4 separate regions of the Homo sapiens genome follow, and regions 1, 3 and 4 are each linked to region 2. The links are contacts of gene promoters, found by promoter capture Hi-C in human tissues and cell types (Jung and others, 2019). All regions are on one chromosome and are shown on one strand. The core of a region is centred on a gene start or on the middle of the fragment in contact, and the rest is flanking DNA. Distances in the headings are between cores, read along the strand shown.

Region 1 (4,938 bases), core at 503-3,002, 230 kb before region 2:
TGGGCGTCCAGCCATGCTCTAAGTCCCCCGAAGATGAAGACCAGGGAGCAGCTTCCTCCAATGAAGCAGCAGCAATCAGAGGACCAGGAGGCTGAAGCCCTGAGCCCAGCCAGAGGCAGGATCAGCCAAGTCTGGGACAGGCTTCAATTATTTTAGGGTAAGAAATCTGTGCTTTGTAAATAGCCAGATGTCTTTGCTTTGGTATATTTTAATTTTTTGTTTGTTTTACTTTTTGTTGTTGTTGGTGTTGTTGGTTTAGAAAAACTCGAAGTAAGAAAAGGGTAATGGGATCCTTGTTCATGTCTGGGAAGTCCCAGTGAGAGAGTCAAGGAATCCTCCAGCTACTGAGGCCCCTGGTGAAGTGAATCATGGAAATGTGACAAATCACAACCCCAGAAGAGGCTGCTCTGGAGCCCCCTGGGGAGTCTTTAATGAACTCTTTAACATATTGCATGAACGAAGAAAACGGTGATTTTAGTGACATTTTAGGTATTAGGGACAGAAAGGGAAGCATCTTCCCGGCAGACATAAAAATGGACAATTTAGACATGCCCCATCCTGTTCATACAGGAGGATGGACAAAAATACTTTCTAAGCAGCTGGGACATAATGCGAAATGCCTCTTGGCTCACCCAAGGGTCTTGGCTGCCCAATTTCCCTTTACCCTCTCTAGCCCTTATGCAAAGAACAAAATAAATAGAAGTCTATAGTCTTCAGTCTTTGCAAACAGACCTGCCTGACATCAATTAGCACTAACCTCTGGCAAGTGGCAATCCTCAAAAAAAGCTCCAGGATGTTTTCAACATGAGGATTTTAATGTGTTCTCTAAATGAGGATTCTAATGACCATTTCCCTGACGAAGCAACCAGGCTTGAGATAGTATATGGTGACACTCGTTAAGTGATTCCCTGTGAGTGAGGGATAAACCTGTGAATGGAATAAGGTCCACGGGCCCCCATTCCCTGCCTATTCCATTAGCCATTGGAAATCTCCAGTCAGCCACGGCTGCAAATGGGTGTCCTGGGGCTGGCAATTGACTGATAAGTCCCAGAGCCCTCATTCCAACCTATTGTTCAGAAAACATCCCCACTGTTCATATTTCAGGAGGGCGGGGGAGTGGCAGCAGAGAGAAGCGGCAGGTAATTTATTCAGGAGCTGGAAGCTGAGAAACGGATTTGGTAAGCAAATACTTCAAAGCTCACTAGAGAACTCCCATAAAACATAGACCTTCTGCAGCAACCAGGGAGTGATTTAAATCCAGTTGGAATTTCTAGGGATAAGGAGTAAGACTTATCAACTCAGTTCAGAGCCTCATGAATAATTTCACCTGACACGGGACACTGAACCAGCAGAAATCTGGGATGTCCAAAGAAAAATAGATTTCAAACTAATCTTTGTTCCTCAAGTTTTATTCCTAAGTGGGGAACCGGGGTGGGAGAGGGGAGCCCAGACAGGAAGCTCGCCATTTTTAGACACGTTATATTTTGTCCTTGTGTGAGAAATGTTGGATGGGAAACACATTTTCTGGCAGCTGAAACCTCGCTGGCTGGGCTGGCTAAGGGAAAGGCCACGAACCCACGTACTACCAGGATGTGGAAGTCATTTGTAACTCCCTCTAGGCTAGTACAGGCAGTGAAAGGGGGAACTTAAAATGAAATAAACACCTAAGCCCGGAGCTGCAAAGCTGGGACTACGTTACTCGTGGTGCCTTAAACCCCAAGCTTTATCCGCCCCATCTCCCACCACCTCACTGCAGACACCCTGCCCTCCGTCCGTGCATAACCACGTTCTCGTTCACGAAGCGGCCAGCCTCGCGGCGCTGGGGAGAAGGCTTCCTCCTTGTCCGCACTTCTGGGTCAACAGCCTTAGATGGGGCGGGGGGGGGGGGTGCGGAGCTGCCGAAACCTTCTCGAAGATCCCAGGGAGTCTCTGTCCCGCAGAATCAGCACCATCCTCCTCGGAGCGCAGCTTTTCCTCCCTGCCCAAGTGCGGTGCACCCGCGCACCACCCAAGCGCCCAGCATCGAGGGCGCGGCGGCGGCGGCCAGGGCGGCCAGGGCCCTTGAGCACCCGCGCGGTTTTCCCCCTATGGCCGCATGGGGGCAGGAGAGAGGAGCTGTGGCGCAGAGCACGCGGAGAGGGACCTGGAGCGCGGGAGCCAGGACGGCGCAGGCAGCTGGGGAGGCCGCGGGGCTGCCCAGCGAGTGGAGTGCCCAAGAATTGGCCGGGGTGGAAAGGTCCGCGGGAGACGATCCCCGACCTCCGGGAACAGGCCTGCGGTCGGCCGCCTTGGCACCCAGGCTCTGCCGCCCCCGGAGACTCGGATCGAGCGCTGGAAGTGGCCGCAAGGGACGCGAGGGAGAGCAGAGCTGTGAATCAGCCGGAAAGTCACTCCAACTCCAGGGAATTCCGCTCCGGGAAGAAAGGTGGCGAGCTTCTCCCTGCGTTCCCCTCCACCCCCAGCCTCCGAACGCACCTTCCCTGCGCTGGCGACCAGCTGTCACCCCCATTTTGCAGCTACTGAGACTTGAGATGTTGGGAGCCTAAAGGACATCATTTAGAACATAAAGTAATTATGGTGATTCTGAGCTCTGTGGCCAGAAAGTTTAACTTCAGGAGATATATATATATATAAAATTGAATGGCCACCTTTTCTTTTTCTATTTTCTCCATGTCAGATCTTTCATCTCTTAGTAGAGACTTCTACACCTTTCTGTTATTCCACCCGAAGAAGTTATGGTCACCTGGTTCTCTTTCCTTCACCAAATCGTCTCCATTTTTCTTCTCCCTGCTTCCAAATTTAATTCTCTCTCTCTCTCTCTCTCTCTCTCTCTCTCTCTCTCTCTCTCTCTCTGTCTCTCTTCCCACCACCCCCGCCCAGCCCAGAGATAGGTTCTCACTTTGTCACCCAGGCTGGCGATCTCAGCTCACCCCAGCCTCGACCTCCTTGGTTTAAGTGATCCTCCTGCCTCAGCCTCCAGAATAGCTGGGACTACAAGCGTGCACCACCACACCCAGCTAATTTTTGTATTTTTAGTAGAGACGGGTTTTCGCCATGTTGTCCAGGCTAGTCTCAAACTCCTAGGCTCAAGCCATCTGCCTGCCTAGGCCTCCCAAAGTGCTGGGACTACAGGCGTGAGGTACTATGCCTGGCCCAAATTTAATTCTTAACTCATTTGAACCAAAACTAGCCAAAAGTTCCAGAGGGCTCCAACCCAAATGAAAATGGCCCAGGAAAAGGAGGAGGGGAAAGAAATACACCTACCAAAGATCAAATAATATCTTGTGGGTCCTTACCAAGAGTAGACATGAAATTGTCTCATCAGATAGTCTCCAGTCTTTTGAAAAATCTTTGCTCCAAAATGACTTGCATTGATTTTTTCACTGATGATATTTATTTGGAAACTTCACATAACTTACAAATCATGTAAAATTTTTGCATTCATTAAATCTAGACCTGGGTTCAAAAGGATTGTGAAACTGCAGTGCTGACGTTAATAAACCATCAAGTTAGAAAAAATGAAAAGCATTAAGAGGGAGCAACACTAAAGCAAAGGCTTGTGGGATTTATAGAGTCATCCCCAAAACAAAGTCTTTGTCTTCCTCTTTCTTTCCTCATCCTATTAGTCAACTGAGGACAGCACTTGGACCATCCCTGGCCTGGTCCTTATCTGGTGCTTTGAGATGGGAGAGGAGGCTCCAGGTTATAGTTCTGTTGCACCACCTTCCAAGAATGAAGCTGGTCAAACTGGACAGAACACGATGGTGTAAGTGTGACAGTACAGAAAGTTGGGACAGTGCTGCGCCTTCTGGAAATGGTAGCCCAGCTGCTCAGGTGTGGGCATGTGCTTTGCTCCTTTATGATAGGAAGCCTGCCTTCCAGTTCCTCAGCATCTGCTTTTCTAGCTGGGTAGTGGCCCAGGCCCCTGAGTTTCCACTTTCTTTTTTTGCTGGCTTTTTTTGTTGTCATTGGAAGTCTGGCAATTCATTAACATCTCCACCAGAGGATGGGCAGGAGAAAGGAAAACTGGGAACTCCAGTCTACCTTGCATTTCTTAGTAGTTAGTACCTCTAGTACTAGCTGGGTTTGGTGGGAAAGAGCTGTACTGCTGGCTAAAATGAGATTTTGTGATTATCTGTGGATTTAATCTGGTCTCCTCACATCTACCATTTCCACAAATAATTAGAGATTATTAGACACATTCAGAAGTTGCATTAGCCTCAAAGAATTTAGAGAAAATCTAAATAGGCTTAAATACCATCTTGGAATCCAGAATGTTAAGCTCTATGCTCCAGATAATTAACATTTTTAGGGCCCCTTTTCTCCCCATGGGGCTAAAATCACTCCTGGGTAACAATTAACTGAACACATTCTAAGTCTAATATATTTTGCAGAAAGGGATGAGCTGAGCAGAAAAACAGATGATGCACTACTGTTGCATTAAAAGAGAACAGGCCATGCAGCATTGGAGGTTTGGCACTTCTCTGTTCTCTTAAGATGTATTCTGATTCTCGAGGTATTGAGAAGAGCCTTTGCTCTTTTCCCACCAAACCCAGCTAGTACTAGAAGTACTAACTACTAAGAAATGCGAGGTGGACTGGAGTTCCCAGCTTTCCTTTCTCCTGCTCACCCTCTGGTGGAGATGTTAATGAATTGCCAAACTTTCAACAACAGAAAACAGCCTTTATATTTTCAAAATAAATCTCATCAGTTGGCACGTGTGGGAGCCTCTCAGGTAGTGGGTGATTCATTGAGAGAGCAATGCCTGCTCCATGAGCACAAGTGTGCTGACCCCTTTTCCTGGAGAACATTCTGGACATAAAGTGTCCATCAGGAGCAGGGGATGAAGTGTAGAGAGGGGCCGCAGCCCTTCCTCAATGCCCAGAGGGCTCCTTCCAGAGAACTTGAGTGGAGTACCACCATGGGGTTCTTTTGATT
Region 2 (4,959 bases), core at 1,658-4,157:
CAGATATAATATTGTCGTGAACTGAGTGGAAATTAAATGAGGAAGGAAGCTCAAAAATGAAATGCAAAGTTCCTATAAAATTATCTTTGGGTACCTGTGGCTTTAATTTTAACATACTTCAATGCGCTTTAAAATGGCATAGAGTCAGATCTGAAAATGTATACCAAAGTAACTTATTTTATTTGTAGTCATTTAAAAATAATTTCTGATCTCCTACCATGGTTTTCACTTAGGAAGTTCAAGTGAAAAATCATGGCATGATGCTGTTGTTAAATTCTCTCTGAAAGTATTTAAGTCTGTTCTATATTGAGTTCCTGCTTACCCCACATAGAAAGTTTTTTTAAGTAGAAAAGAAAAACTAAGAAGGGGACAACTGAAGCCAATCATTTTGGTGAATTTTCTTTGAAAATTAAGCATTTTTATTTCTGAAAAAGTGTAAAAATCTTACATTTAGAATAGTACAATAATAATTGCCAGTAAAATTTACAATACTCCTTGTAAAGAATACGCAGTAAGTACAAAAAAATCCACACGTCTGTTATGATACAAAACACAGGTTGAAATAAATGATAATTTTGACTTTTTTTCTTGTGTAAACATGTTAACCATTTTTCCTTTTCATGAAAAAGTACACCAGACAAGTGTCCTCAAATAAAAAAGAATTGCTTCGCTGGCATTCTTCAAGACCTTTACTATTTTTGTATTATTCTTTTGACCATTATTTTTTAACGCCTGGACCTGAGAATCTCTACACCTCAAAAAGGCTTAGTTGTTTTTCATCTGCCAAACGTCAAGGGAGCCTCTAGTGCCTGGACAGGGCGGACTCCCTTCCCCGGCACCCTCTTCCTCCCTACCCCAGGTCGGGGGTTGGGGGGCTGTAGCATAGGTCGGCTTTGCATAAATAGAGGGACCCGCAGAGCCAAAAGGCGCGCCCGGGCTGTTGACAGTTTTGTCCGAGAATTCGCAGCGGCGAAAATGGGCGCGCGAGGTCGAGAGGGGCCGCGCCTGGAGGAGCGAACAAAACACCGAACCACCAAGACGAGAAAAGGAGCCGGGATTCCTACCTTCTTCCTCGAGCGCGCTAACATAGCGTTATTAACAATTGGAAATCCTAGCAGTAAAGTTCTCGACACTGGACAGGGCAGTCCCTTGGTGCAGAGTCCCCAAGGCGGCGGACGAGGAGACTGAGGAGGCGGCGGCGGCCGCGGCGGCCACGAGGGATCGGGTGAGCGCGGCCGCCGGGCCCACGGCCGCCTGCGCCGCGCAGCCTCCTCCGCTGGATCCGGGAGCTGGCGGCGCCGCCACCGGCGAGGGCGAGGGCGAGGCCTGAGCGGCGGCGGCGGCCTGCGCGGCGGCGGCGGCAGCGGCGGCCGGGCCCAAGCTGCCCCCGATGATGCTCTCGATGGAGAAGGGCGAGCGCGCCAGCGCTGAGGCGCCCGGGCCGCCCGCCTTGGCCGCGGAGGCCGGCAGGGGGCCGGGTAGGGCGGCGCCGAGCGGGTGCGGCCGGTAGCCGAAGGCGGTCCGGGCCAGCTCGGCGGCCGCGCCGTGCGGTGGCGGGGGCGGCGGGGGCGAGTGCGGGTGGAAGGCGGCGGCGGCGGCGGCGGCCGCTGCGGCGGCGAAGAGGGCCGAGGGCGGCGCGTAAGGCGGCAGCTGCAGGCCGTAGCCGCAGCCGTAGGGGCCGTAGCCGTAGGCATGCGGGGGCGGCGGGGGCGCGGGCGGGAAGAGCGCGGCGGCGGCTGCCGGGTCGCCCGCGCCCCCTGCGGCTCCCGCGCCGCGCAGCAGCAGAGACTCGGCGGCCGCGGCGTTGGGTGGGAGCAGCGGCTGCCGCTTGAAGCGCTTCCTCCGGCGCAGGAAGCTGCCGTTGTCGAACATGTCGGCGGACTCCGGGTCCAGCGTCCAGTAGTTGCCCTTGCCCGGGTTGCCGGGCTCGCGGGGGATCTTGACGAAGCAGTCGTTGAGCGAGAGGTTGTGGCGGATGCTGTTCTGCCAGGCGGGGAACTTCTCCCGGTAGTAGGGGAAGCGGCCGCTGATGAACTCACAGATCTCGCTCAGCGTCAGCCGCTTCTTGGGGCTCTGCAGGATGGCCATAGTGATGAGCGCGATATACGAGTAGGGCGGCTTCACCAGCGGGTTCTTGGCGCCGCTACCCGCGCTCCCGCCGCCGCCCGCGCCGCCGCCGCCGCCGCCCCCACCGGCTCCTGCCCCCGCCGCCGGGGCCGGGCCCGGGGGCGCCGGGGAGCCCCCAGCAGGCGGGGCCAGCAGGATGTCATCGTCGTCCTCCTCCTCCTCCAGATCCTCCAGCTCGTCCTCCCCGGCGTACGAGCGCCGCCGCCGCCGCCGCTGCGCGGGGACAGCCAGCCGGGGCCCGCCACCGCCGCCCTCGTCGTCGTCCTCCTCTTCCTCGTCTTCTTCGTCCTCGCCCTCCCCCACCACGTCGATGTCTGTTTCCTCGGCGAGGCCAGAGGCATCGGACATCTCAGTGCTCAGGGTCATAGCTGTGGCGCGGCGGCGGCGGGGCGGCGCATGGGGGCGCCGGGCTCCGGGCTCCCTCTGCGCCCCAGCCCGGGTCCCGGGCGGCAGGCCCGGCCGGGGGGCGCCACGCTGGGGGCGCTGCGACTGCGGCTGCCGGAGCTGCGCCGGGGCTGCCGGGTGGCGGCGGAGTCTCGCGCGCCGACTTTATAACTCCTGCGCCGCCGCGGTAGCCGCGCGGATGCTGCGCTCCCTGGGCTCCGCTCGCGCCCGGCCCGGGCGGAGGACTTGACCTTCTCCTCTCGGAGCAGCTTTTGCCCCGTCAGCTGAGGAGGGGGTGGCGGGGCCCGGGCGGGCGAATCAGAACGCCAGGCGCCCAGGAACGTGCGGGACGGGTGAGAGTCTAAGAACAGAGCTCGGCGAGGCCAGGGCTGAGTCCAGGAGAGGGCGGACCTTCCTCGGCTTATAGCAGAAGGGGGCCTGTCACATGGTGTGCACGTCAGAGCGCTGCCGAGGGAAGGAAAGCAAGCCTAGGAAATCAGCCCTTCTCGGGAGAGAAAATTCACCCGTAGGAGGGAGGCAGCAGCTGAGAAGAGTGGGGAGGAGAGGGGACCTCACTATTTCTTGCCAAAGAGGCTGATGCCCGAATTACGCGGCTGTCTGCACCGAGGGCCGCTGCACGAGTTAGACTTCCCAGCCTCCTCAATTAGTCCTCCACCCTAACCTCAGAAGCACACCCGCGACACTCTGGTTTGACCCCTCGACAGCCTGTAGGAGCCTTCCAGCCGGGGGATAACCACCCCATCCTCTGAGGTGGCCCCTGGGGGACGCTCTGGGGTCGGTTGGGGGTGTCCAGCCCCTCCAGATCGGGCGAGCGGCCCCCCATTGGATCTGATGCGAAGCCCCCCAATTTAAGCACGATAATAATTGTTTATTGACCCTTTAACCCATTCTCTTCGGTTTTACTCCAAAGACGTTTGTTTTCCGCCATCTGTTAATAAAAACGCTGTGAGACTGGCGTTTTACTCACTTCTCTGCGATTGAATGCCCTAGAGACTTGACAGTTAAACTAAGCCACTCTAATGAGACGATCTGACAAATGTCATGGGAATAAAGAACGTAATAATTGAATTCGGAGAAGAAATTGAAATTTTTAGTGAAAACCCAAATACACGCACAAAAATTGCACCTAGAAACTACTAAAAAGTTCGACCAGCCTGGCCAACATGGTGAAACCCCGTCTCTACTAAAAATAGAAAAAAATTAGTAGGCGGCGCCTGTAATCCCAGCTACTCGGGAGGCCGAGGCAGGAGAATCGCTTGGACCCGGGATGCGGAGGTTGCAGTGAGCCGAGATCGTGCCACTGCACTCCAGCCTGGGCAACAAGAGCGAAACTCCGCCTCAAAAAAAAAAAAAAAAAACAGAAGTTCGTTCATAATGGGGCTATATAGTTCTCAGTAGGAGGAACATTCTAGTCAGCACTTTGCATAGTAATCTCAAAATACTTAAATTACATAACATATACATATTTCTACTGAGGCTTATTAATAGAAACTATAATGATAGATGACTTTAAGATAAACTTTTTAAAAATGTGTTTTTGGAAAATCCTTAAATATTGTTAATCCTTTCTGGTGAGATGAAAATTTTTTTTATGAGATTAAAGTTCCGCTCAATTCAGTTTTCTTTTCGGGTGACAAGATAGTGGAAATAATTAAGATATGATGCTCTTTTAAATATACCTATCTTTATCACCAACTCAAACGAGCTATTTTGGCTAGTGGAAAAATCCTAATAGTTTGTTGAATTCACATTCACTTATTTGTGCATTTCCTAAAATGCTTCTATTTCAAAGAGGGGAGCTTGTCCCAAAAGTTTAACTTTCTGATTAAAATGACCCCTTGACAAGAACTAAGAATCAAAATTCAATGGCGTTCTGTAGGAACAGCCATCAGCTGCCCTTGTGTATATCATTTTATCGACCAAGTACTTTTCACATTCTGAAACGTGTCATTACTACCGCTGTCAATCACAGAGCCTCAGAAATAAACTGTTTCCCCATCTAAAGACCTCTATTAAAATCGAGTTTTTGTTGCTGAGGACTGCTACCACCAGTTACTCTTACAAGTGACCCATAAAGGCTATCATAGGTCTTTGAACAATCTATGAGAAAGCCTCGACGTTCTAAATAAATTATTTTTCATTAACTCTTGTTTGATATATGGGTGAACAATTTAATTACTGTAATAGGCTGAGCATTAACCTGAGCCAACATTAATCAGCACTATTAATCAGGCATCACATTGCTTTGTTGATGCAGCCAGGAGTCCTTACCAAGGAGTTCACTTTTACATTGGAAAGTTTAAGTTTTATAAGTACTCAGTCGATATCTAAATAAACACCATGACTTTCGCAGCACTGAGGGTTGGTGTGTGGCGAAGTTATTCAAAGATGAAACAGAGAGGAAGAATTTGTTCGCAGACCATTAAT
Region 3 (5,259 bases), core at 1,132-3,631, 210 kb before region 2:
CATCAAGCCACTCTCAGGATTGCGGGGCAGTGGGCAAGACCTGATCCAGAGGGTGTGCATTAAGCCGTTGCCCTCGTTGCGTTTAATTCTCCCGTCACTCCCCAGTCACTAAGGGAGGCCTCCTACTCGCGCCTCAGCTTCAAGGGCGGATGTGGCTGGGACCACCCTGGGACTCGGGTGTCTCCAAATGTGGCTCAGGCCGCCCCACGCCGAACGAGGTGGGATCAGATATTCCCGCTTGTGAGTGTTGGTGGGGCTGAAGAGATCACACGCGGCGGGGTGTGGAACTTCGAGGGGTGTCACGGCCAGGGCTTTGCGGCCCCAGACGTCCCAGCGGCTCGCAGGGGGCGCCAGGTCCGCGCTTCCCCTTGGGTCTTCGAGAGGCGTGTGCGCAGGACGCTGCCCTCTGTTGCCCAAAGCCCGCACCAGGCTCCTGGGCTTCCGCGGGCTTCCGCAGGCCTCAGGCGAGGGGCGGGGACGCCACCCGCACGCTCCCGAGCGCAGGGAGGGCTGTCGCCGAAGCGGTGACCCACGCGTGGACCCCGCCCGCGCTGGGCCGGGCCGGTCCCCTGCCCACCCGCAGCCCTGCTCGGCCGCGTTCCCAGCAGCCGGGAAAGCTTCCTCCCTCGGTCACCGATCCAGGCCGCTGGTCCAGCTGTCAAAACAGGGGGTGTCTCTTTCATTCTGGCTCACAAAGTCCCAAAGGGGAACAGGGGGCCTTAATGCTTGTGTTTGGACACAAGCAATTATCCCTAATTATTCTTTTTCTTTTGAGCCTGCCCGTCCCGCCGGCGAGCCCGCCGCGGAACAGGCCCCGTAATCCTCCCTGGTCGGCGGATCTCAGTGGGCTCTGTGCGGCCCGAGGCTCGGGCGCTTTCATGTCACTGCGGGTTTAGAGCTGATTCAAACTCATTGCGATGGGGGAATTAACCCCGGGGCCCGGGCTTTCAGGGGCCTCTGATAAGAGATTATACGTGTTGATGGCAAGCTTTTCTTGGCAAAATGTTTTCAAAGGGCTTGGAGTTGTTAAATCAAAGCGCCATTGAATTGCTCGGGACCACCCCCTCCCCCGCCTCTTGCCCTTCCCCCACCTCCATCTTTTTCCCTTCATCCCTCCTCCCCCATCACCGCCCAGGACTGCCCAAGGCGAGCGGCCCAGCCTCCGGGAGTGGCGAGTCACCTTCCTTGGTACGATTTTCCCCCGGTGCCTCGCCCGGGAAGGATTGTTTTTGTAGGTGCTCCTGCTGCTGGGCACTTTGGTACCCCTTCCCTTCCCCGCCCCTCCCCGCCCCTTCACACACACTTGCTCTGGTAAAGAAAACATGTCCCAGATGAAAGACGTTTTTTTCAAACGTACATGTGTTTTGCAGAAAACGGAGGTGACAGGGTGGGATAACGAGGAGAAAGGAAGGGTGGCTTTCCTGCCTCCCCCACCCCCGAAAGGTCATCGGAGTCAGAGGGGTAACCATCGGGTTAAAAAGTATTGTGGGCAGAGTTCAGATGTCCGGTGAATCGCACGGTTCTGCCCTGGGGGAGATCTGCCTTCCACCCCCACCCCCGCGGAATGACAGAAAGAGTTGGGAGGACCGTGGGGATGTAGATTCTGCACTGTGGAAAGTCTTTATTCAGGGAACTGGGTTCAATTATAAACTGCAAAGGATTATTGGGTACTGTGCTGGGCCCTGCTTGGGTGCAGTGGGAAATGCAAAATTTGGACAAGGGTTTACAAAGCCTTACAGGGGCTAGGTAAACACCTCCCCTTGAAATAAAACAAGATATTTTAAGTGCCAGATATGTGAAACTGGTAACAATGTTGTGCTTGTCATCTTCCCCACCCCCCACCCCACCCCTCGCCCAATATATATCACATATACCACACTAAACTGGTCAATTTCCACAGCTAGACTTCCTGGCTATCCAGACCTTGATCCCCTCTTCACCTCTCCCCATCCCTGGGATTGGAACCCTGCCCTCTACCCCCATTTGGCTGGTCTGACACCCTGCTTGATTCCTGCCAATCCCTGGAAGTGGCACAGAGGTGGAACAGTATCCTGTTCTTTTTTTTTTTTTTTTTCTTTTTTTTTTTGAGATGGAGTCTCACTCTCACTCTGTTGCCAGGCTGGAGTGCAGTGGCACGATCTTGGCTCACTGCAACCTCTGCCTCCCGGGTTCAAGTGATTCTCCTGCCTCAGCCTCCCGAGTAGCTGGGATTACAGGCTTGGGCCACCACGTCTGGCTAATTTTTCTATTTTTGGTAGAGATGGGGTTTCACCATGTTGGCCAGGATGGTCTCAATCTCTTGACCTCGTGATCTGCCCACCTCGGCCTCCCAAAGTGCTGGGATTACAGGCATGAGCCACTGCACCTGGCCTATCCTGTTCTTTTTACCTTGGCCAGTGGTTGGGTCCCTGCTAGGAATAGATTGGTTATTAGGAGAGCTGACTGCCTAACTCAATACCCACACCCTGTACAGGATTGGACCCCAGGGCACACAACCTGCTGCCCAGGGTCACTAGAATCCTGCACTGCACCAAGCTTCTAGGCTAGGAGCTTCTCACCCCACTTTCTGTTTACCTTTTCCTTCCCACTCCTGCCACTCTAAGGCCCAGCATGCTTGCCCTGTGAACCTGCTCAAGTTATAACAAAATTTGATGCCAAGTTGGTACCCTATTTTGTTTCCTGGCTTCCTGAAGGATAAAGTGGTTCCTTGATTTATTTTCTGCTTCTTTCATAGTTAATGAGATATGATGGGCCCTGTGGGAAGCAAAGTTCAATTATGACTTTTTGTTTTACATATCCATGGAATCCTTGGCCCGGTGTCTCCCAGTAACTGTCTAATATGTAGCTTTGTCTTTGTAAGCTTGTATTATCTCTCCAAGATACAGATGGTTTTTGTGATCTTAATCTATTTCGTTGGTAATATCTTATTTAAATTTTTGAGTCTCATAGCCAATGAAAGAAAAAATAGACAAATGGGACTGCAACAAACTAGAAAACTTCTGCACAGCAAGGGAAACAACAGAATGAAGAGACAACTCACAGATTGGGAGAAAATATTTGCAAATCATACATCAGATAAGGGGCTAATATCCAAAATATATAAGGAAATCAAACTACCCAGAAGAAGAAAACAAATCACCCTATCAAAAAATGGGCAGAGGACCTAAATAGACATTTTTCAAAAGAAGACATACAAATGGCCAACATATATATTTTTAAAATGCTCAACGTCTCTAATGATCAGAAAAATGCAAACGAAAACCACAATGAGATATCACCTCACAACTGTTAGATTGCTATTATCAAAAAGATCAACGATAACAAGTCTTAGTGAGGGTGTGGAGAAATATGGAACCTGTACAGCATTGGTGGTATTGTAAACTAGTACAGCCACTTTGGAAAACAGTATGGAGGTTCATCAAAAAATAAAAAACAGGATTACTATACCATCCAGCAATCCCCACTCTGAGTATATAATACAAAGGAATTAAACTCAGTATGTTGAAGACATGTCTGCACATGTTCATTGCAACATTATTCACAATAGTCAAGATACAGGAACAGCTGGGCATAGTGGCTCATGCCTGTAATCCCAGCACTTAGGGAGGCAGAGGCAGGCAGGTTGCTTGGGCAACATGATGAAACCCTGTCTCTACAAAAAAACCCCACAAAAATTAGCCGGGCATGATGGCGCATACCTGTAGTCCCAGCTACTCGGGAGGCTGAGGTGAGAGGAACCCTTGAGGCCAGGAGGCAGAGGTGGCAGTGAGCCGAGATCACACCACTGCACTGCAGCCTGGGCAAGAGAACCAGACCCTTCTCAAGCAAACAAACAAAAATATGGAAACAACTGAAGTGCTCGTCAATGGACAAATGGGTTTAAAAAAGTGGTATATATACACAATGGAATACTATTCAACTTCTTAAAAACAGGAAATTCTGTAATTTTCAACAACATGGATAAACCTAGAGGACATTATGCTAAGTGCAATAAGCCAGACACAGAGAGACAAATAATATAATCTCACTTATAAGTGGAATCTAAAACATCGAATTCATAGAAGTACAGAGTAGAATGATAGTTCCCAGAGGCTGGGAGCAGGGGAGAGGGGAAGATGGGGAAAGGAGAAACATCGGTTAAAGGTACAAAGTTGCAGTGAGACAGGAGGCATAAGTTCTGGAAATCTACTGCCTAGTATGGCAAATATAGCTAATAGTTATATATACTTCAAAATTTCAAAAAGAGAGGATTTTAAGTGTTCTCACATAAATAAATGATAAATATCTGTGGTAATGGGTATGTTAATTAGCCTGATTTGATTATTCCACAATGTATACATGTATAGAAACATCACATTGTACCATATATATATATATATATATATAATTTGTGAATAAAAACATAACTTAAATAATACAAATATATTTTTGAGGCTGATAAACAGAACTCACTTATACTTCCTTTTCTCATGCTGTTGTCTGGTTTTGGTATCAGTTATGCTAAACTCATTCCATTTCAATCCACAATTTTTTTTTTTTTTTGGAGACCAGGTCTTGCTCTGTCACCCAGGCTGGCAGTAGTGGCGAGGCCTCAAAATCCTGGGCTCAAGGGATCCACCCAGCTCAGCCATCTGAGTAACTGGGCTTATCAATCTACAAATATTTATTGACTGCTTCCAGTGTTCTAGGCACTTTCAAGAGTGAACAAAACAGATTTAAAAAAGCAAAAATTTCTGCCTTCCTTGAATTTACATTGCAGTAGAGAGAGACACAATATTTTAAAAGGTAGGAAATAAAAACATATTATAGCATGTTGGAAAGTAATAAGTGCTATTGTAAATTAAAGCAGGCATCAAAAAGATCAATAACAAGTGTTGGCAGGGATATGAAGGGATTGGAACCTTCATATACTGCAGGTGGAAATGCAAAATGGTATAGCCACTTTGGAAAACAGTCTGGTAGTTCCTAAAAAGGTTAAACATAGAGTTAACCATATGACCTAGTAATTCTACTCCTAGCTATATATGCAAGAAAAATAAAAACATCTGTCCACAAAAAAGCTTGTACACAAATATTTATAGTAGTATTATTCATGATAGTCAGAAAGTGGAAACAACCCAAATGTTTCCATTTCAATTCACCCATTTAAATTATATAATCCAATGGTTTTTAGCCAAATTTCTATTGGTGAATGGAGAAAAAAATGTGGCAAATCCATACAATGAAATGTCATTCAGTCATAAAAAGAAATAAAGTAGT
Region 4 (5,608 bases), core at 245-2,744, 180 kb before region 2:
AGGGGCTTAGTCCAAGGCAACACAGAAAATTTGGGAGTTGACATGGTAGAAGTCTAGGTGTGACTAATAGGAAGGGCCACATACTGCCAGTGGAGCTAAGACAGGTTGTGACCTATGAGAAATCCTCAGTGAACTGGCTACGACCCACCCCTTTCTCTCCCACTCATCTGAACTCACAGGTGTGTTCTGACAGTGATATATGGTCACTGGCTTAACACAGAGGGGGGCATGAGATCTTTAAACCATAAAACTGCAGTTCCACAGAAATGTTTGATAATGTTACACAGGAAATATCATGGAGCCCATGGTAGAGCACTAAAACCATGGTCTGAAATGGGAATTTTTTTTCTCCCATCACAAAATAGCGGCAAGTAAACACCCTTTCTCACCGCCATAGCCTTATGGAGACATGTAAGACAGATTACCACATGTTTGGAGCAGAAAATCAGACAAGAAGCTGCAATACCACACACACAGATTGCGGTCCTGCTAATCAGTCATTGGTGGCAGGTCCCTCTGCAAGGTATACTGGAAGTGGGGCAGGGGGACATTCTAGGTTCAATGTTATTAAGAATTAACTTCCAGAGATACAGCTGATGAGTTAAGTTTTTACATTTCAACTCTGAGCATTTTCAAGACTACTCATAATTTTCTGCAGTTAATATTAAATATGCCATTAAAAGGAAGCACATTCTGATGTGTGGAACAGAAAGAATTCATATGACAAAAGAAAATTCCAGACTGAACCAGGACGAAGACATTTCCCGTAGCGACGCCCAGCCTAGTATTTCACCAGTACTAATGAGAAGCTGTAACAGCCAGCTGGTTTTGCTAAGTTAGGCTGCAGTATCAGACAACCCTACAGTCTCAGGAACTTACAGCAGCAAAGGTTTATTTCTCACCCCAGACTGCTGTAGCTCAACTCCCAACTGCCCCAAGTCTCCCCACTTGGATCAAGACTAAAGGAGCAGTTCCTATCTGGAACGCACTGTTCTCATGGCAGAGGGAGGAGAGAGGGCAGAACCACAGCATGGCCCTTAAAGCTTCTGATCACAGCAGCAGCCCCACTTCCCACTCACATTTCATCGGACAAAACAAGTCACTGGGCTGACCCACCTTCAATGGGCAGGAAGTTCAATCTCCTAGGACAGACTACTAGGGTTGGGGCCAAGCCAGGAGGGGCAGGAATATTTGGACATAATATAATACAGCAGGGATTAGGCTGTATTTCCAGAACCACATCATCTATTAACAGCAGTCTGATGTATATAATTATGCTTACATTAATTGTATAGTGAACAGTTTAGAGTCAAAACGTGAGGTCAGTCATTTCTAATTATTCTTTTTGTGGCTCTCAAAAATTTGGGTATTGGAGATGCCCTCAGGTATTAATATAAACCACAGGATGGACTGGATGAACCCTATCTGGCAGTGGCAGGCAGGATTCTGAAAGTAGGTAAATGATTTCAATGGTATCCCTGGGCAAGGGTGGGGGGGGAGCGTGTTTCTCAAGTTGTAGTCCACATTCTGTCTGTAGCAGAATGACCTGAAAGTCAGATTTAATGTGCAGATTTCTAGGATCCACTCTAGTTATACCGAATCTGAGTTTCTAGGGGGTGGGGACTGGGAATCTGCATCTTTTTTAGCTTTCCAGGCAATTCTGATGTAGATTAACTATTGAGAAGTGCCATCTCAGAAAATCCACCCTTACCAGGGTACACTCCTGTCACAAGGTGTGATGCCAGATGCTTATGCCATCTGTCACTGTCTGCAGCTCTGGCTCCCAGGACTGGCCTTAAGCAGGGACCAGAGTGCACTCATATCCGGGTGCTGCGGGTCCAGCCGGGATTTGGAATTTCCTGGGAAGTCAGGGAGAAGGCATTGCTTTCTTTTTATGGAATGGTTTATAATGAGGGCCTCTATCCCTCCTTCAAATACATTTCAGTTTATATAGTTCACTATTTTTCTTGTAAATCAACATCTGTGAATCATTTTGTTATTTGTCTATTTTTAGAAATAAAATGTGACTACATTGAACAATGTACTCATAAAAAGTCCTCTTAGAATAGTAACAATTGTTTTAAAACTTATATTTTAACTGCTTTGCCTCAACAATGTACATTTGGAAACAAATCTAGGATGAAAATTTAACTGTAAGTTTCCAAACCTGATTTCTGTGAGATTTGCATTTCATTAAATATTTCAATTATTGATTCCTAAAATGAAAAATGAAATTAAAAAGTCTGTGTTCTGACTGGGCTCTGCCTCTGATTTTCCAGGGCTGCTTTTAAAGAAAAAGAGAGCGGTGTTCCAATGGGAGGATTTCATTTTAGAGTTCTGTTGCAGTGACCTCTGCTGCTGCTGCCTGGGTCATTAAATTCAATACACTTATGCTTCCAGCTAAAAGTTTCCTGGGCTGGTTGTGCCTTAACAGGGCCTGGTCTAGCACCCTGGTGATATAAGCTGCCCAGAAGCTGCCAGCTCATTTCAGGACAGTTCCAGCCTCTTTCGGCGCATGCCCTGAGGAGGACCATGTAACGAGAGGAAGGAATGCTTTCCATGGGGTGATACTGACCTTGCCTTCGTAGCCATTTAAACACCCTCAGCTTGCACATTTTTGTTAGGCTGGTGTATTCTGCTTCTGCATGGGTACTAATGCCATCACTGTATTCTAGGGGCTGGAACAATTAGTACAGACTCTTTCAAGGTCTATTCTGTTGTCTAATCCACACCTCATATATGAATTACCTTCTAAATTGGGTTGTGTTCATGATATTAAGCTCTTAAATGTTATTTTCAAGTTCTTTCTGCCTTTTCGAAGTCATGACTACAGCGGAAGTGAGGAGGAGACAATTCACTACAAAGTTCAGTTGCAAGCAAGGCAGGGAGAGAGGAAGAGAAAGAAGGAAGGAAAGAAAAGGACGAAGGAAGGAAAGAAAAGGACAAAGGAAGGAAGGGAGGGAGGGAGGGAGGGAGGGAGAGAGAGAAATAAAACTCTTTTGCTTTGTCTGCTTTGCCTCTGCTTTGTTTCGTTTTGCTGAGCTGACCCGGCCTAGTCGTGCCTCTCAGCTGAATCCAAACATTCACATTGCTGTCCCTCCAGTACTGGGCTTTCTTTCCTGTGGCTCCTAAATTCTGCAAGTTTAGCGCAGCCAGATACATGTCACAAGATGCAAACCATCATGCTCAGGGAACTTCTGGATCTTCAGGAGGCTGGCATAGAAAGGACAGAGGGCAGCGTGAAGTCTAAACTCAGCCATTATTGTCATGAAATTGTCTTGAGGCTCCCTCACTGAAAGGATGTGTTCCCTTTCATACTGACTGCAAGCAACAGCTCGTTAACGTGGCATCACGGCTAACCATGCGAGTAGCAGAGACCCCGTGCCAACACGGCGTGCTGGTTTATATACCGCTAATGCAGACTTCATTTAGTTTCTTGGGATTAGAATGTTTCAATATTGCCTTATAAAAATATTCCATTCTGGTTCTTGGTCAGAGCGTTAGTTCAGAAAAGCTGCAAGGCTTTAGCTGCCAGTTTCTCTTGCATTCCTGTTATTGTCTGTAATTTCTAAAGACTAGTAAGCAGACATGGCACTTTACAAATACACAAAGACAAGGGCCTGGCCTTCGGTCAGAAAAACACAACCGAAATGAAAATAATCCAAGCAGAAGCAGTAACAGAGTTTTTGGGGAGGGCATCAGCTATGGAAAGCGAAGTTTAAAGTATTTCCGTTTTTGTTTTGAAATGGGAGTGATTGGAAGAGAGAGGAGGTGACCGCGTCCTGAGGTTTGCTCTGCGTTTAATCTTACCAGGCTTGTGGGCTCAGAAGGTCACTCAATTCAAAAGCAAAGTTGTTCAGACTGACCCCTTCTCCCCCACCAAAGAAAGTGCTTTCTATGGCAGACAGCTCCTTCTTTCCAACGGCTCTGTGGCTGACCTCAGCTCCCCAGACAAGTGTAGGCTTAAATAAGATAATTGCTTTCTAAGGCATTATGCCTCCTTGTAGGAAAACTTCTTGGACAGAGAGCACAACACCTCTATTGGAAGGAGACCACACCTGAAGTCACATCCCTAATTGGTTGCTTCATTTGCCTTCATCAGAAAGCTCTACTGACGGCATCAAGCAAATGTCAGGCATTTTACTTCTTAGAAACAAGCCAGCTACCCGGCACTGTGGCATAGTCAGTTAATCCAAGACACATTTTTATAAAAACCTCAAGTTATAACCCACATATGGTGGCAGATCATTATCCTAAGACTCTAAATTGAATCAGTTATACAGTTGGAGGCGGATCTATCATAATCTGGAAAACTTTTCTTTTTACTAGTCTATTTTAACAAGTGTAGGGAGGAAATAAAACTCAAAAAGCATAAACTGTTTTACATTTTGAATTGAACTTTGACAAAAATGGAAAAACTCCAAAATAAAGGCATACTGGCAAAGGAGGAAGGAAAGATGCAGACAGAAATAAAGGAGGAAAATGTGGAAATAAAAAGGTTCTGATACTGCTTTTACATTTCCTGGTTTAAGTGAAAAAGGCAGGATATACAATTGCACAGAGATATGATCCCTAATGAGAGACAGCGAGAGAGACAGGGATAGAAAGACAGACAGAGGTAAAGGACTAAAATGAAATGGATCCAAATAGGTCATTTCTGGGAATTGGGCTTGCACATCACAGTTATTTTCTTTTGGGGCCTTTTTGTATTCTCCAAATTCCCTACAATGAGGATGTTTTTCTTTGACAATAAAAATCAATAAAATATTTTAAAAATGATTTCTCATTCAAAATGCAACTATCTTTACCTCTGAGTCTGAGCACATAAGCTGATAGAGTTCAGGGTGGTTAAAGGTAGAGTTTCTATGTGTATTACTGAACTTCCAGGCCCAAGGGAACAGGAAGTACACACATACAGTCTCACACATTTTGCATAAGCTCATAGATAGGTATAAAGACTTTAGTCTAAACATGTTTTAACAGTTCCAGTGCCCCAGGCTATAGTAACAGATGATAAAATAAAGTGTTCTGACCTATTGCAAATTGTTACCATCACCATCGGTAGACACCATCTGCAAGATCCATTCCAGTTGTGGATGATGCATTGCTTTACACCTTGTGTGTTACACCACGTGAGTTAACACAGTGGAGGCTAGTGTGCTATGGAGGAGGCCAGGCTGACCCTGGCTGTGAGCTTTAACTGTATTGGTTGTTCCAGGAGCCACAATCTCTAGATGATGGGCCATTCCAGGTCCTGGAGCAGCTGGAGCTGGGAGAGCATGCAGAACTTTGCTCTCAGATCTCGTTCTATCTAGATAATGAAGCTGGCTGCAAAGTGCCTTCCCTGCACCTGAAGGTCTGCAGACCTTCCTGTTTTATTTGCATTTGTCTTTTAGATCACTGTGTGGATAAAAGGTACCCCCAAAGGAAGACTCCAGATAGTTATCCTGGCCACTGCCCAGAACTATTCACTCCATCTGTTCCTCTGTTGAAACTCTTGAATTAGAGGTTTATTTAGGTTAACATGATTGTTTCCACAGAAATACAAATGCCTCAATAGGGTTATGAGACATTGGTCTAACTTCCCTTCTGACACCCAGGCAGCCAG

What was found. Contacts are between HindIII fragments. The study calls those that stand out against the background at their distance.
Region 1: a contact is called between a fragment that was not itself captured here and the fragment with the promoter of FOXD1 in region 2, in 2 of the 25 tissues and cell types used here (IMR-90 fibroblasts and spleen).
Region 3: a contact is called between a fragment that was not itself captured here and the fragment with the promoter of FOXD1 in region 2, in 1 of the 25 tissues and cell types used here (mesenchymal stem cells).
Region 4: a contact is called between a fragment that was not itself captured here and the fragment with the promoter of FOXD1 in region 2, in 2 of the 25 tissues and cell types used here (IMR-90 fibroblasts and aorta).

The regions. Positions count from the first base shown.
Region 1 is chr5:73,214,125-73,219,062 of GRCh38, forward strand. LOC124901002 (a long non-coding RNA gene) reads left to right here. Exons shown (of 3, transcript XR_007058818.1): 1 at 1-157. Among named protein-coding and RNA genes, the nearest start is that of TMEM174, 43 kb to the left of the region's middle. RefSeq lists a silencer at 2,003-2,182. The HindIII fragment of the contact is 6,939 bases long and covers 1-4,938 here.
Region 2 is chr5:73,445,870-73,450,828 of GRCh38, forward strand. It overlaps FOXD1 (forkhead box D1), which reads right to left and starts at 2,908. Exons shown (of 1, transcript NM_004472.3): 1 at 397-2,908. The coding sequence starts at 2,493. The coding sequence ends at 1,096. The HindIII fragment of the contact is 13,220 bases long and covers 1-4,959 here.
Region 3 is chr5:73,233,208-73,238,466 of GRCh38, forward strand. The region is part of intron 1 of LOC124901002 (a long non-coding RNA gene); the gene reads left to right. Among named protein-coding and RNA genes, the nearest start is that of TMEM174, 63 kb to the left of the region's middle. RefSeq lists an enhancer at 1-629. The HindIII fragment of the contact is 3,158 bases long and covers 803-3,960 here.
Region 4 is chr5:73,264,037-73,269,644 of GRCh38, forward strand. The region is part of intron 1 of LOC124901002 (a long non-coding RNA gene); the gene reads left to right. All of the region lies in intron 1 of LOC105379031 (a long non-coding RNA gene), which reads right to left. Among named protein-coding and RNA genes, the nearest start is that of LINC02230, 71 kb to the right of the region's middle. The HindIII fragment of the contact is 4,811 bases long and covers 1-3,900 here.